Regions from separate parts of the Homo sapiens genome. Here region 1 is linked to region 2. The links are contacts of gene promoters, found by promoter capture Hi-C in human tissues and cell types (Jung and others, 2019). All regions are on one chromosome and are shown on one strand. Each heading gives the region's core, a stretch centred on a gene start or on the middle of the fragment in contact. The rest is flanking DNA. Distances are from core to core; before and after follow the strand shown.

What was found. The method cuts DNA at HindIII sites, captures the fragments that hold promoters and counts their contacts. A contact is called where the count stands out against the background at its distance.
Region 1: a contact is called between a fragment that was not itself captured here and the fragment with the promoter of COX4I2 in region 2, in 1 of the 25 tissues and cell types used here (mesenchymal stem cells).

The regions. Positions count from the first base shown.
Region 1 is chr20:31,938,777-31,946,039 of GRCh38, reverse strand. It overlaps TTLL9 (tubulin tyrosine ligase like 9), which reads right to left. Exons shown (of 15, transcript NM_001008409.5): 14 at 6,774-6,898; 15 at 1,040-3,095. The coding sequence ends at 3,019. PDRG1 (p53 and DNA damage regulated 1) reads left to right here. Exons shown (of 5, transcript NM_030815.3): 5 at 151-1,703. The coding sequence ends at 233. Among named protein-coding and RNA genes, the nearest start is that of PDRG1, 9.6 kb to the left of the region's middle. The HindIII fragment of the contact is 5,609 bases long and covers 1-4,325 here.
Region 2 is chr20:31,632,875-31,640,032 of GRCh38, reverse strand. COX4I2 (cytochrome c oxidase subunit 4I2) reads right to left here and starts at 2,121. Exons shown (of 5, transcript NM_032609.3): 1 at 2,071-2,121; 2 at 934-1,015; 3 at 1-100. The coding sequence starts at 1,015. RefSeq lists a silencer at 2,061-2,200 and enhancers at 5,329-5,829, 5,830-6,330. The HindIII fragment of the contact is 12,374 bases long and covers 1-7,158 here.

The DNA.
Region 1 (7,263 bases), core at 272-2,771, 310 kb before region 2:
TCATCTGGTGCATTGCAGAATTGGAGGCCCATCCCTGCCAGACCTCCAGGCTGAGTTTGGCAGCATTAGTGCAGCGTCAGCCCCTTTCCTGGGCCTGGCTCCAGAGCCAGCAGGAGGCCCGACGTGCTGATGGATCATCTTCTCTCCTAGGCAAACCGGAGCTGAAGGGTTTTAACTTGAACCCCCTCAACCAGGATGAGCTTAAAGCTCTCAAGGTCATCTTGAAAGGATGAGACTCAAGAACCAAGATGGGGGACCAGCAACCCCCCAGGGTCATGGAGGACCCAGGACCCTCCAACCTTGACACCTGTAAGGACAGGATCTGCCCTGTAAGGGGCCAGCCGTCAGGAATCTGGCCATGAAAACCTCTTTGTAGTGCTTGGCTACTCTGTGATGGCAGGAGGGAACCTTCAGCCTGTCTGGCTGCTGGACCTGGACACCAGGGCTCGGTGGACACAAGATCTATTGACGGGCCTTGGTAGCCACCAGTGGGTGTGTGGGGCAGTGGCTGTGGGGGTGTAAGAATGACTGCAACAGGCACTTCCCAACAATGGCCTGCTGTTCACATGGACCCTGAGCAAGGAAGGAGGGAGGGAGGGGCAGAGTGGAGTGTCATTCCAGCATTCCTCTCAGAAGGGAGAGAGGTTTTCAGGCTGGTGCCATGCGATTGGAATAAAGCAGGAGGCTCATGGGTGGTTGCTGAATGAAGAACAGAATCTTGGTGCTTTGTGGCTCACCACAGCCATCTGTGGGGCAGGCACACACACCTCCCGCCAGCTCCAATTTTGCACTTTTTCCCTGCTTGATTCCAAGAGTAGGTGCTGCCTAGCAGCCCTTCGTGGCCACTCTTTACTCAGGAGGGCCTTGCAGAGTCCTGCACCAGGCCTGGGTGAGTGGATGCGCCTCTTACCATATGACACGTGTCAAGATGCCCTTCCGCCCCCTCTGAAAGTGGGGCCCGGCCAGCACTGCTCGTTACTGTCTGCCTTCAGTGGTCTGAGGTCCCAGTATGAACTGCCGTGAAGTCAAAACTCTTATGTGTTCATTAAGGGCTCAATAAATGTTAGCTGAATGAATGAATAGCAGCAACTAGTCTTTATTTGCCTCATCTAGTCCTTCAGTAAGGGCACGCCACTCCATTTAGAATACAACCTATGAACATGGTTCTTGCCTTGAAATAAACCTGTGATTTGACAGGCGGGTGATAACAAATGGCAGCATGGCAGGGGCACACCTCTCCTGGTCCCCCCGCTCCTTGGCTCTGGCTCATAGTTACATAGAAACACAGGCTGTCATGGCCAGTTCTTACGTGTTTTCAAGAGAAGCTAGACATATGGGTTGTGAAGTTGAATCTCCTTTTAAATATTTTTGACTAATGCAGAAACTTTTAAAACATGAGTGTGGGTCACAGGTGTTAGCTCCAGATAGTGCAATACCATACAACTATAATCAAGAATAAGGAACAAGCTCCAAGATACATCAAGTGAGGAAAGCAAGGGGAAGGCTGGTGTCTTATAAGCTAATAATTTTTGTGCAAGCACAGTGTGATTCCCTCAGAACAGCACCTGCAGGGTTGGGGCGCACAGGTGGGAGGGAAGGAGATGTCACCCTATACCCTTTTGTAAACTTTGGATTTTAAACCGTATGAATATATTGCTTATTTTAAAATGTAAATAAAGTAGGGAGTTGCAGAATTCACCTTGCTAGATGTTGTCCAGTGTGACTGCCTGATTCACAATTTCATCACTGGAAAATTGCCCCTTCCTCCCTGGCAGGGTGGGTGCTGGGCCAAAAAAAGCTAATCGCATTCCTTCTGGAAATAGGGAACCTGGAGTCCATGCCTGGACCTGTCTGGGTTGGTGTGCCTCAGGTACAGGGATGAGTGGGAGAAGTCCTCATGCTCTGAAGGCAGAAGGTCTAGAGTAGCCTGGCTTCTGGCTTTCCTAAAGTCGGCTGGTTCACTTCTTGGATTTGCCAGTATTTTCCTTCCAAAAGTCTTCCCTTCGGGCTTGACCTAGGCAGGCAGATTCAACCATTTGCAGCCAGAGAAACTACTCTGAAGCAGGCGGAGTGGTAGAGGGAGTAAGTCCCCCCTGGAACAGTTACCCCAACAGCCCCGAGTCTTGTTGCAACCCCTCTTAAACCAAGAGGAAGCTTAGCAATGTAAGATGTGAAAAGGCAGATTTTTACTCACACTCAACTCCCGAAGCTGTCCTGCCCATGAGCCCAGGGTTTTCCGGTTTCTGGCTCAGCTCCCAATCTCAAACACAAGGCCTAGAGAAGCACTTAAGTCACCCATCTGACTTAGATAAATGCACCTTTGCAGAGACCCTCACTAAGCTCTGCCTCCCTGGTCTGTCTTGTCCATCTGAGAAATGGGGATGCCCTGTCCCACTGGTTTTCAGATGATGGTCAGGGAGCCCCATGGGCTCCCCTGACATGCAAGGAGAAGAGGATGTGTTTAGGGCTCAGTACTTCCCCAGGCCCCCAATAAACACACAATCTAATAACTGCTTGCTGTGTAAGCACAGCTTAAAGACGAGTTCCTTAGCCTCCAAACTCTTGCTCCTGAAGGACCTTTTCAGCACTGACTTGGGAGGTATCCAAGTGTCAAAGCCAGGAGGACTTGGCTGCAGCCAACAGTATCCCCGGAACCAGGCCTGGTGCCCAGTGACTCCAAGTAGGGCCTGTGCTCATTTATTAGATATGATCTCCTGGGGGTAGCAGAACTTGCTGTATTTGTTCTCTTTGGGCCTAACTGCCAAGTCAGTTTGTCAAGGTTAAACCTCCCCCAGTCCCAGTGATTGGCTGTCTCCTGGTGCAAAGATGCCTGGGGATGGGCTGGAGGTATCCAAGGGGCCCAATTCAGGTAGTAAGCTGCAGCTGCTAAGCCAGCAAAGCTGGTGCCAGGCTGGAGGTGGGGAGGCGAATGCTGTGAGGTGCTGTGCTGGGATCTGGGAGTGGGGGGGAGGCCTGGGTGGCACCTGCTAAGGCTGATTTCCTCCTGGCAGCTGGGGATCAACTGGAAGCTTTCTTCTGAACTTGAAGGGAGCAGAAGAGCTGCCTCAGTTGTTTCTTCCGATCGTTGACGCAGCCTGGAAAGGAAGTGGGGTGTTGGCTGGGATGACCTATGCTTGGGAGGAGTGGAGGGGCCTGTGCCCCAACTCCCTGCTGGGAAGAGGGGACAGCGGGAGTCAGACAACCACACACAGCCTGTGGTTTATATCCTGGCTCCATTCCTAAACTGCCATGGCCCTCAAGCAGGTCAGTTACCCTTTTCAGCATCGGTCTTCTCATCTGTAAACCAGGATACTACTGCCCACCTTATGGAGTGAACATGAGGACTGGGGGCTTACCTCAAGCCAGGAACTGCTCCAGATGCTGAATGTGGATGGATTTGTTTGGCCCTCGCAGGAATGATGTGTAGAAGGGAAAACAGGCTCAGAGAGGTTAAATCATTTGAACCCAGACTACCTGGTGCCAGAGCCACACTCTTAACCACTACCCCACGCTGCTGCTTCTCCTGGCTTTGCTCAGTGAAAATGCATTTAAAGCTAGCACAGTGCCTGGCACCTCATAGCTGCCCAGTACTGTTAGCTTTCTTCCCTTACCCAACCCATGTGCCAGGCACAACTGGCTAAGAGATGAGTTTTCCGTACATGTGGCCCCCAATCCCAGGCAGTTCGTGCTGAGGCTGCCGTGAGCTGCTGAGACGTCTCTCCCAGGACGTTCATGGTGCTACATGTTGGCTGTTTGCTCTCAGAGCTGATCCTTGAGGTAACTATGGTCATTTAACCTCATGCCAGGCACATTGCTGGCACTCAAAAATGCTGCTTGAATGACTGAATCTCTGTGGCCACTAGTTCTGACCTGTGGGTGTCTGCCATCTTCCACATCCCCCCAAACCCTGTCCCTGCTTCCCAGACACTCACTCAGCCATTCACTGAGCTGAGAGCCTACGATGCACATCCTCAGGGTTTTCCAGAGTGAGTTCCATGCAGCCCTAACTTAAACTCTATTTGGCTCATTCCTAACTCTCGAGTCTTCTTGTCCAGTGCAAACTTCTTGGAGTTCTACACTCATCTCTGAGTTATCTGCTGACCCTTTCACCTGGATGTCCCTGAACGCTTCCCTAACTCAGTTCATCAGTACTCTTCCTACCCTAACCAGCTACCCTTGTGTTTACCACCATAAACCCAAACACTTGAAACAGGAATAATTCTAGAGACTTCTAAAGCACTGGCTCTCCCAGCCTGGTCAATATAGTGAGATTTTGTCTCTACAGGAAAAAAATCACACACACAAAAATAAAATTAGCCAGGTGTGGTGTGTGCCTGTAGGCCTAGCTACTCAGGAGGCTGAGGTAGGAGGACTGCTTGAGCCTGGGAGTTTGAGGTTAGTTACAGTGAGCTATGATTGCACCACTGCACTCCAGCCTGGGCAACAGAGCGAGACTCCGTCTCAAAAAAAAATAATAAAAAAAAAACAGTAGCTCTCAACTTGGGCTGCATATTGGAATCACCTGGGAGCTTTAAAAGCTACTGATGCCCACACCAACCATATCTTGATCTGGCAGGCGTCAGTAGTCTTTAAAGCTCCCAGGTGATTCCAATGGGCAGCCAAGATAGAGAACCGCCGCTTTCCATCTTTGCTACTCAAATGGGGGTCCAGGAAGTAGCGCATTGATATCTTTGGTGCACTGTTGGCAAAGAAGGCTGCAACAATGTTCCTATATGCACACCTCTGTGCAAGGTGACTTTGCTGCTCCTCTCATCAAAAGGTGGGGTCTATTTTCTTTTTTTTTTTTTTTTTTCTTTTTCTGTGTGAGACAGTCTCGCTCTGTCGCCCAGGCTGGAGTGCAGTGGCGCAATCTCGGCTCACTGCAAGCTCCGCCTCCCGGGTTCACGCCATTCTCCTGCCTCAGCCTCCCGAGTAGCTGACTACAGGCGCCCGCCAGCACGCCTGGCTAATTTTTTTGTATTTTTTAGTAGAGACAGTGTTTCACCGTGTTAGCCAGGATGGTTTCGCTCTCCTGACCTCATGATCCGCCCGCCTCGGCCTCCCAAAGTGTTGGGATTACAGGCGTGAGCCACCGCGCCCGGCGAGGTGGGGTCTATTTTCTTACCCAGTGACTGGGCTACACCAGCAAATGCTTTGATTGTAGCAGAATGACTTTATGGGACTTCTGAGTCCGGGCCGCAAAAGGCTTTGCAGTGTGTTTTCTCACCCTCTTAGAACCCCGAGTCTACCACGTGAAGAAGCCAGGGCCAGACTGTTGGAAGACGAGTGGCCACATGGAAAGAGAGGCCCAACTGACAGCCAGTATCAACCCCCACACCTATGAATGAGGCTGTCGTACACCATCAAGTCTCCAGTAAATCTGCCAGGTGCCTGCAGCCCTATAAGTGACCCCAGGAGAGACCTGAGGAAGGATGAGCAAATAAAATAGTTGCTTTAAGCTGCTAGGTTTTGGGAGGGCTTGTTACACAGCAATGGTTAATCAATAGAGCATCACCCAGGAGCTTGTTAGAAATACAATCTTAGGCCCCACCCTAGACCTATGGAGTCACAATCTATAGTTTAACAAGATTTCCAGGTGATTGTATGCATATTAAATTAAGCTTGGACAGTGTTATATAGTCATCTGAAGCCTTATACATTTAGAAAACTAAACAACCCATAGAAAAATGGATAAAGAGTATGGACAGCTTACAAAAGAAGAAATGCAAATTTAAAAAACGGAAACCTCACCAGTAATCAATGGAATGCACATAAAACAACGAGTCAGTATGTTTTACCTCACCAGTTGGCACAGATTTCTTTTTTCTAAAAATTCAAATCTGACAAATTCGTATAATCTTTCTGGAAAGAAATTTGGTTGTAATAATCCCATCCCTTTGGCCCAATAATTCTGCTTCTAGGAATCTGTCCTCAGGAAATGGCCAGAATTTCAGCCGAGCTTAATGTGAAAGGATGTTCATCATGGTATAATTTATAAAAGTAAAAAAAAAATAAAATGCAATTGTGCCAAATGTCCAATTATAAGAAATTGGTTTAGTAAATTTTGGCATATGTACAAACTGAAATATTTTGCAGCCATATGGTAATTTTTTTAAACTCTGCCAAGAGGCAGGAGAGTCTAGCGGACAAGCACTCAAGTTTTGGAGCCAGGCAGATGGGAGTTTGAGTCCTGGCTCACCACTTATGGCCAAAACCTTCATTCAGCAAGTTACATAGCACCTGGATATCATTTCCTCATCTGTAAAATGACAATAAAAACTCCTTAAAGATAAAATGAGATAATGTATGTAAAAGATTTCATCCGGACTGGACCAAAAAGTGCATTCAAGAGGGAGGCTCTTAATATGCTTGAATGAAAAATGCCAAGGGGAAAAGAGGGATTCAAAACTCTAGCCCAATGCCAATTTTATAAAAGAAAAAGTATGAATATATGCATTTTTTAAGAACTGGAAGGAAATACACCAGATTGTTAAAGATGCTTATGTCTGGATGTTTTTATTTCTTTCTCTAGTTTTCAAATATTCTACAATGAGTGTGAATCCCTTTTTTATAATCAGGGAAAGTTTTCACTTTTTAGAAACCAAGTTTAAAAACGAGGAACAGAGGTTAAGTCCCTTGCCCAAGGTCACACAGCTGGTAAGTTGCAGATTGAATTCAAACAATCTAACCACTATCCCAAGCTGCCTCCTAGACTACCTGGTACCTCCCATGACCCCATCCCTTGTGCCCACTCCCCACCTGGCCCTACATACCGAGATGTGTGTTGGTCACAAAGTTTCCCATTCCCGACAGGTCAGGAGCCCCCTCCTCTCTGCTAACAGGGCCATCATTCCACATGAGGTCAAAGCCCCCGACTCGCTTCTCCCTTCCCGTGAGCCTGGACAGGAAGGAGGCCCACAGGGTTAATGAAGGTGCACCTGGCAGAGCCCTAAGACCCAAGTGAGGTCCCTGATCTCTCCCTGAGCCCAACTGATGTCCGTCCCTCAGAAGTCCTTTTTCCCAACCATTCATTGGCTGTTTCCCAGGTGCCTATGTAGGTCTCTGAGGGGTTGTTCCCATTTTTCCCCCAAGGCTCCTCCTACTTGCTCTTGGTAACATGCCCCTATTTGTTTTTTTTGTTTGTTTGTTTTTGTTCTTGTTTTGAGACAGAGTCTCTCTCTGTCACCCAGGCTGGAGTGCAATGGCACAATCTTGGCTCACTGCAACTTCTGCCTCCTGGTTCAAGTGATTCTCCTCACTCAG
Region 2 (7,158 bases), core at 872-3,371:
TCCTCAGCGTTGAGTTCTGTGCAGAAGGGCTCTTCTGGCATGGGGTAGTAGCGCTGGGCATAGCAGTTGGTGTAGGGGGACATCTTCCCCCCACCACGGGCTGCAGACACAATGGAGGGAGCTGAGTCCAGGCTGCCCTTGGGACACCCTATCTCTAACTATATTAATAAAGAAGGTGGCCGGGCTTGGTGGCTCATGCCTGTAATCCTAGCATTTTGGGAGGCTGAGGCGGGTGGATCACGAGGTCAGGAGTTCGAGACCAGCCTGGCCAAGACAGTAAAACCTCTCCTCTACTAAAAATACAAAAATTAGCCGGGCGCAGTGGTGGGCACCTATAATCCCAGCTACTCGGGAGGCTGAGTCAGGAGAATTGTTTGAACCCAGGAGGCGGAGGTTGCAGTGAGCCGACATTGCGCCACTGAACACTCTAGCCTGAGCGACAGAGCAAGACTCTATCTCAAAAAAAAAAAAAAAGGAGGTTTATAATAGCTTGGGGTACTAGTAAGGGCTCAATAAATGTTATCTTTGTTATTCTCCATGGGTCAGCAAGGCCCTTCTGCTATCTGGCTGAAGTCTCTCCTACTTTAGGTCTCTTTCTTCTTACTAGCATTGAAACTAGGGTCTGGAAAGGAGGAATCAGGGTCCAAGGTTCTGTCAGCATCCTCCACCTCAGAACAAAAGGTCTAGGGGCCTGAGGCTTGGGGGCTGGCTCCTAAGGAAGCTTGGAATGGAGATGACCACTGTCTGCTCACCCCGCGCACTCCATTTCCTGGAGAAACTTGACCTTGGACCAAGGAGTGGGATCATGGGAACATGGGAAGTGTGGTAGGAACAGGCCCAGGGTGGCATGGAAGGGCAAAGGGGGCAGCCTGCAGAGGGGACCCCTGCCCCTATCTCTGGAGTTAGGCAGGGAGGAAGGAGTCCAGGTCTCACTGGTGCCTTCTGAGCTGTGCATCCCTCGTCTTCCACCTCCACCTTTCCTCAGCACCAAGCTCCAGGCAGCTCTGGGGAGCATCTGGGGGCGTGAAGGTATAGATGAGTTCTGCCCCCACATCACCCTCTGCCCCCAAACCGCAGGGCCAGATGGAAAAATCCTTTTCCACTGGTATGGTAGTGGTAGGGGTGTCCCAGTGTTTCAAGGTCACCCTCATGCCCTTGACCCTTCTAATTTTGTCTGATATCCCCAGCGGGGGGCCAATGGGGGTCCTAGACCTTTGAAGCCCCTTTTTGGGACCTCAATTCACCATCTGAGAAGTGGGAGGAGGCCTAAGTCTTGGGCCAGGGTCTGAAGAGTTTGAGGCTGAGGGCTTGGGTTCTGGTGCCAGCCCCAGCTCAGTCTGGCCAGATTGGAGAACCCCGCTCACTTGTTTGCTCCCCAGAGGAAGCTGGGTGGGGTCCAGGTGGAGAGGGAGCAGTTCTTGAGTCTCTCTTCCCTGCAGGGGCCAGAGGCCCCTGCACCGGCAGAACAGACAGACGGTCTGGCCCCCACCCCTTCCCCCCTAATTGGCTGCCTACGTGCACACAGGCCTGCTCTGCTGGATCTGGTTGGGGTGGGGACTGGGCTTAGCCAGTCTGGCTGAGCCCAGTCTCCCACCCCCAGGGAAGACTCAGGGTTTGGCATCCATGGTGGTGGGGAGGGGCTTTAGAGGATGGGGACTTAACTGGGTCAGAGGGAGGGAGACACACATCTGGGGAAAAGAAGGGGAGTCCCACATCTAGGGAGAGAGAGGGGCACCCAACAAATAGAGTGAGGGAGGGGGCACACTACAGGTGATAAGTGGGAGGGGGCGGCCCACACTTCTGGAAAAGAGGGGCTCCGGCCAGTGATTATGATTAGTGGGTGGGAGAGCTCCACATATCAAGAGAGGGAGGATGTAATCTATATTTGGGGAAAGAGATGGCACACATATGCAGACTCCCCAGGAGTCTTCAACTCTAACCTACAAGAAGCCCCCCAACCCTCTAAGACAGGGACCACTGGGGCGTGACCCAGCGGCGAAGGCAGGAGACCGAGCCGCGCCCCTGACCCGCGCGGGCTTGGGTGGCGGGGTCCTCCCCCAACTCACTCACCTCGCGGGCTCGGCAGTGGGAGCGCGACCTGGGTCTGCCCAGCGAGCAACTGAGAACCCGCTGCGGAGGGACCTGAGTGCGGGCGCCCGCCCCCGGCCCGCCCCACAGCCTTTCTCGGGGCCGCCCCAGCGTGGGAACGTCCTGCTTCGGCAGGGCGTGGGAGCGCACAGCCTGCGTCCCTGGGGGCACCCCGGCCCACAGATTGGGGGGAGGCACTGCAGAGCGCCTCCTGCATCAGTGTCCCTACCGGGGTCCTGCCTCTGGAGACCCTCTGCAGACAGTAGTCCCAAGAACAGGGTCTCCCTGCCTCCTCCACACCTCCCCTCCTTGCTGTTTCTCCCACCTGGGATGTTCTCTTCAGGCCTTTGCAGACGCAAACCTTCCAGCCAGGCCCAATGCCTCCTACTCCAGAAGCATCTTTTAGGCCAGCAGTGGCTCACGCCTGTAATCCTAGCACTTTGGGAGGCCGAGGCGGGAGGATCACCTGAGGTCAGGAGTTTGAGACCAGCCTGCCCAGCATGGCGAAACACCTTCTCTATTAAAAATAGAAAAATTGGGCGGGCGCGGTGGCTCATGCCTGTAATCTCAGCGCTTTGGGAGGCCAAGGCAGGCAAATCACGAGGTCAGGAGTTTGAGACAGCTTAGCCAACATGGTGAAACCCCATCTTTACTAAGAATACAAAAATTAGCTGGGCGTGGTGGCACGCACCTGTAATCCCAGCTACTCAGGAGGCTGAGGCAGGAGAATCGCTTGAACCCGGGAGGCGGAGGTTGCGGTGAGTCGAGATCCGGCTACTGCACTCTAGCCTGGGCAGCAGAGCTAGACTCCATCTCAAAAAAAAAAAAAAAAAAAAAAAAAGTTAGCAGGGCGTGGTGGCGCGCACCTATAGTCCCAGCTTCACAGAGGGCTGAGGCAGGAGAATCACTTGAACCTGGGAAGCGGCTGTTGCAGTGAGCCGAGATCGGGCCACTGCACTCCAGCCTGGGCAACAGAACAAGACTCTGTCTCAGAAAAAAAGAAAAAGAAAAAGAAAAAAAAAATTCCCAGCACTTTGGGAGGCCAAGGGGGGCAGATCATGAGGTCAGGAGATGGAGACCATCCTGGCTAACACAGCGAAACCCCGTCTCTACTAAAAATGCAAACAAAATTAGCCAGGCATGGTGGCAGGCGCCTGTGGTCCCAGCTACTCAGGAGGCTGAGGCAGGAGAATGGCTTGAACCCGCAAGGCAGAGGTTGCGGTGAGCCAAGATCATGCCACTGCACTCGAGCCTAGTGACAGAGCGAGACTCCATCTCAAAAAAAAAAAAAAAAAAAATAGACAAGGCTCAGGCACATTTATTCAAGAATTACTTATAAAACTGGGCGTGGTGGCTCATGCCTGCAATCCCAGCACTCTGGGAGGCGGAGGCGAGCAGATCACCTAACGTCAAGAGTTTGAGACCACCCTGGCCAACGTGGTGAAATCCCGTCTCTACTAAAAATACAAAAATTAGCCGAGTGTGGCAGGGGACACCTATAATTCCAGCTACTCGGGAGGCTGAGGCTAGATAATCGCTTGAACCTGGGAGGCAGACGTTGCAGTGAGCCAAGATCGCACCACTGCACTCCAGCCTGGGTGGTAGAGTGAGACTCCTCAAAAAAAAAAAAAAAAAAAAAAAAACTTAAAAAAAACTTATAAAGACCTGTTTCAGCTGGCATTTATTGCATACTTGTTTACCAGGATAAATGTTGGGGGCTATAGAGCCAAAAAAAACCAGACATAGTTCCTGCCCCCACAGGGCTTACAATTCTGTTCTAGGCAGAGGAAAAGGCCTGTGCAAAGACCCAGAGGCAGGAAAACACAGCATGTTCAAAAAACAGAAGAGACAGGCCAGGTGCAGTGGCTCACGCTGTAATCCCAGCACTTTGGGAGGTCAAGGCAGGTGGATCACAAGATCAGGAGATCGAGACCAGCCTGGCTAACACGGTGAAACCCCATCTCTACCAAAAATACAAAAAATTAGCCAGGCGTGGTGGCATGCACCTGTAGTCCCAGCTACTTGGGAGGCTGAGGCAGGAGAATCGCTTGAACCCGGGAGGTGGAGGTTGCAGTGAGCCAAGATTGCACCATTGCACTCCAGCCTGGGCGACAGAACGAGACTCCGTCTCAAAAAAAAAAAAAAAAACAACTGAACAGAAGAGACAGCCAGGTGCGGTGGCTCATGCCTATAATCCCAGCACTTTGGGAGGCCGAGGCGAATGGATCACCTGAGGTCGGGAGTTTGAGACCAGCCTGGCCAACATGGTGAAACCCCGTCTCTACTAAAAATAAAAAAATTGGCCAGGTGTGGTGGTGCACATCTGTAATCCCAGCTACTCGGGAGGCTGAGGCAGGAGAATCGCTTGAATCTGGGAGGCGGAGGTTGCAGTGAGCCAAGATCCCACCGTTGCACTCCAGCCTGGGCAACAAGAGCGAAACTCCATCTCAAAGCAACAACAAAAACAATAACAAAAGAAGAGAGGTCATCTTGGCCAGAGTGTCATGGTTAAAGGGGAGGCTGGATGGAGGGAGAGGTGGGCTGGACCACCGAGAAGGACCTGTAGGCGGTAGTGAGGAGCTTGGATTTTATTTAAAGAAGGTGATTAAGCTGGCATGGTGGCACACCCCTGTAGTCCCAGGTGCTCAGGAGGCTGAGGCAGGAGGTGGAGGTTGCAGTAAACTGAGATTGCACCACTGCACTCCAACCTGGGCAACAGAATGAGACCCTGTCTCAATAAATAAATAAATAAATAAAATAAAATGAAGGTGGGAGGCAACCAAAGTTAAGAAGAGGAGTGATGTGTTCAAATGAAGCAGAGCACAAGTTCAGTAAATGTGTCCCGGGACTGTTAGTATACGGATGGTGGATGAATGGGAGAGGGCTGGGGGTCCCCTCGGTGGCCTGGAGACCAGAGCTTTCCAGGTCTCCTGGCTCTAGGTCCATGGGGTATGCCCAGCCCCCATGCCTTCCATCAGGGTTCCTATACCCTAGTGAGTCCACAGGGGCCTGCTAAAGACAGTTTCTAAAGGCTGGCCAGGCATGGTGGCTCATGCCTGTAATCTCAGCACTTTGGGGGGCCAAGGTGGGCAGATCACTGGAGGTCAGAAGTTCGAGATTAGCCTGGCCAACATGAAGAAAACCTGTCTCTACTAAAAATACAAAAATTAGCCAAGTGTCGTGGCACATACCTGTAGTACCAGCTACTAGGGAGGCTGAGGCGGAGGTTGCAGTGACCCGAGATCGCACCACTGCACTCCAGCCTGGGCGACACAGCGAGACTCTGTCTCAATAAATAAATAAATAAATAAATAAATAAAGGGAGGGGGCTTAGTCCTGGGGGCAGATGAGCCTAGAAGGCGAGGGGCTCAAGGGAAGGTGTTAGAGGGACCCTAGAGTGCACATCACCTCCATTCTAGACGCTGCCAGAGACAAAACTTTGAGAAGGCAGCTTGGGAGTCTTCCCGAGTTCCAAGAGTCCAGCTCCCAGAACTGACCATGTTGGGCCCAGCGCCCTCTGCTGGTCACTCTGGGAGCTGCTCCTCCCCTTCCCCAACCAAGGTAATTCCAAACGTGAGAGACCCCCAAAAGGATCACCTTGGCCAGGCACCGTGGTTCATGCCTGTACTCCCAGAACTTTGGGAGACCAAGGCGGGTGGATCATCTGACGTCAGGAGCTCGAGACCAGCCTGGCCAACATGGCGAAACCCCGTCTCTAGTAAAAAGACAAAAATTAGCTGGGCGTGGTGGGGGGGGCACTTGTAATCTCAGCTACTTGGGAGGCTGAGGCAGGAGAATCGCTTGAACCCGCGAGGCGGAGGTTGCAGTGAGCCGAAGTCGCACCACTGCACTGCAGCCTGGGCCACAGAGTGAGACTCCCTTTCCAAAAAAAAAAAAAAAAAAAAAGGACCACCCCTTACCTCGGTCACTGAGCAGGATGTTCTACAGAACAGCCCTATGGACAGAGGACAGGGGAAGACACTCCTTCTTTAAGAACCTGGAGGAGAGCATGCCTTGTCTTTTTTTTTTTTTTTTTTTAAGCTTTGTAGAGACAGGGTCTTGTTATGTTGCCCAGGTTAGTCTTGAACTCCTGAGCTCAAGGGATCCTCCTGCCTTGGTCTCCCAAAGAGCTGGGATTATAGGCGTGAACCACTGCGCCAGGCGGAAGGTCATGAGTCTTGCCAGACCTTTTTCAGGGTGGCTGGGAGGGCGGTGGCTGCACTGGAGTGAGTGGCCTGTGTCTATGCATGGCTCTACTACAGCCACTCTGGCCAAGCGGCACCATTTCTGGGCCTCAGTTTCCCCCATCTCCTCAGTTTCACAGGGTCTTCCAAGGGAAGGCATTTGGGAAAGGCGATCCTCTGTTCTTCCCTGCCCTCTTCCGCCCCCGCCTCTGTGGGAACATCAGGCTCCAGAAGTTGAGTGATGCTGTGATAAGGAACATCTGTGGGGGAAGCCCAGCCCCGGACTGAGGGCCATGGGGTGGAGGCCGGCCCTGAGTAGCTCACGGTGAATATAGCCTGCAGGACAACTGCGGAGCCTCCTTTCAAGGTCCTGAACCTGGGAAGAGACGGACTGTCCCTTAAGGCAGGCCACTCGGGGTCCCAGAGCCGAGGAATAAGGGTCTTCTCCTGGAACCGCGGGGGGTCCAAGGGTGGAAGGGACTCCGGACACGGCATTCAGGCCACTTGTCGTGACAGGCCCGACATGCTGAGAGCTCTGGGATAGGCTGAGACCTGCCAGCAGGAGGGATGGCAGCTCACGCTCACTTGATCAGCTCCAGGGAGCCCCCAGATTCTGCCCAGATGCAAAGACCTGAGCCATGGCCTCAGCATCCCCCCACCAGCCAGGCTCTAGGTATCACACAGGACCCACCTCCGGCCTGCCAGCCCAGAGGGGATACTGTGGAAGAGCTAGGCCTCACGCAGGACCCTAAGGTGAAAATAGGAAGAGGAGCTGGACAAAGCGTCACAGACCCAGACCCCCAGCCCTTCAGGAGGCCCGGGAGCCCCTTGAACCCAGGGAGGAGGTCTAGTACAGGAGGAGCGGGGAGAGGCGAGAGTGGGCAGA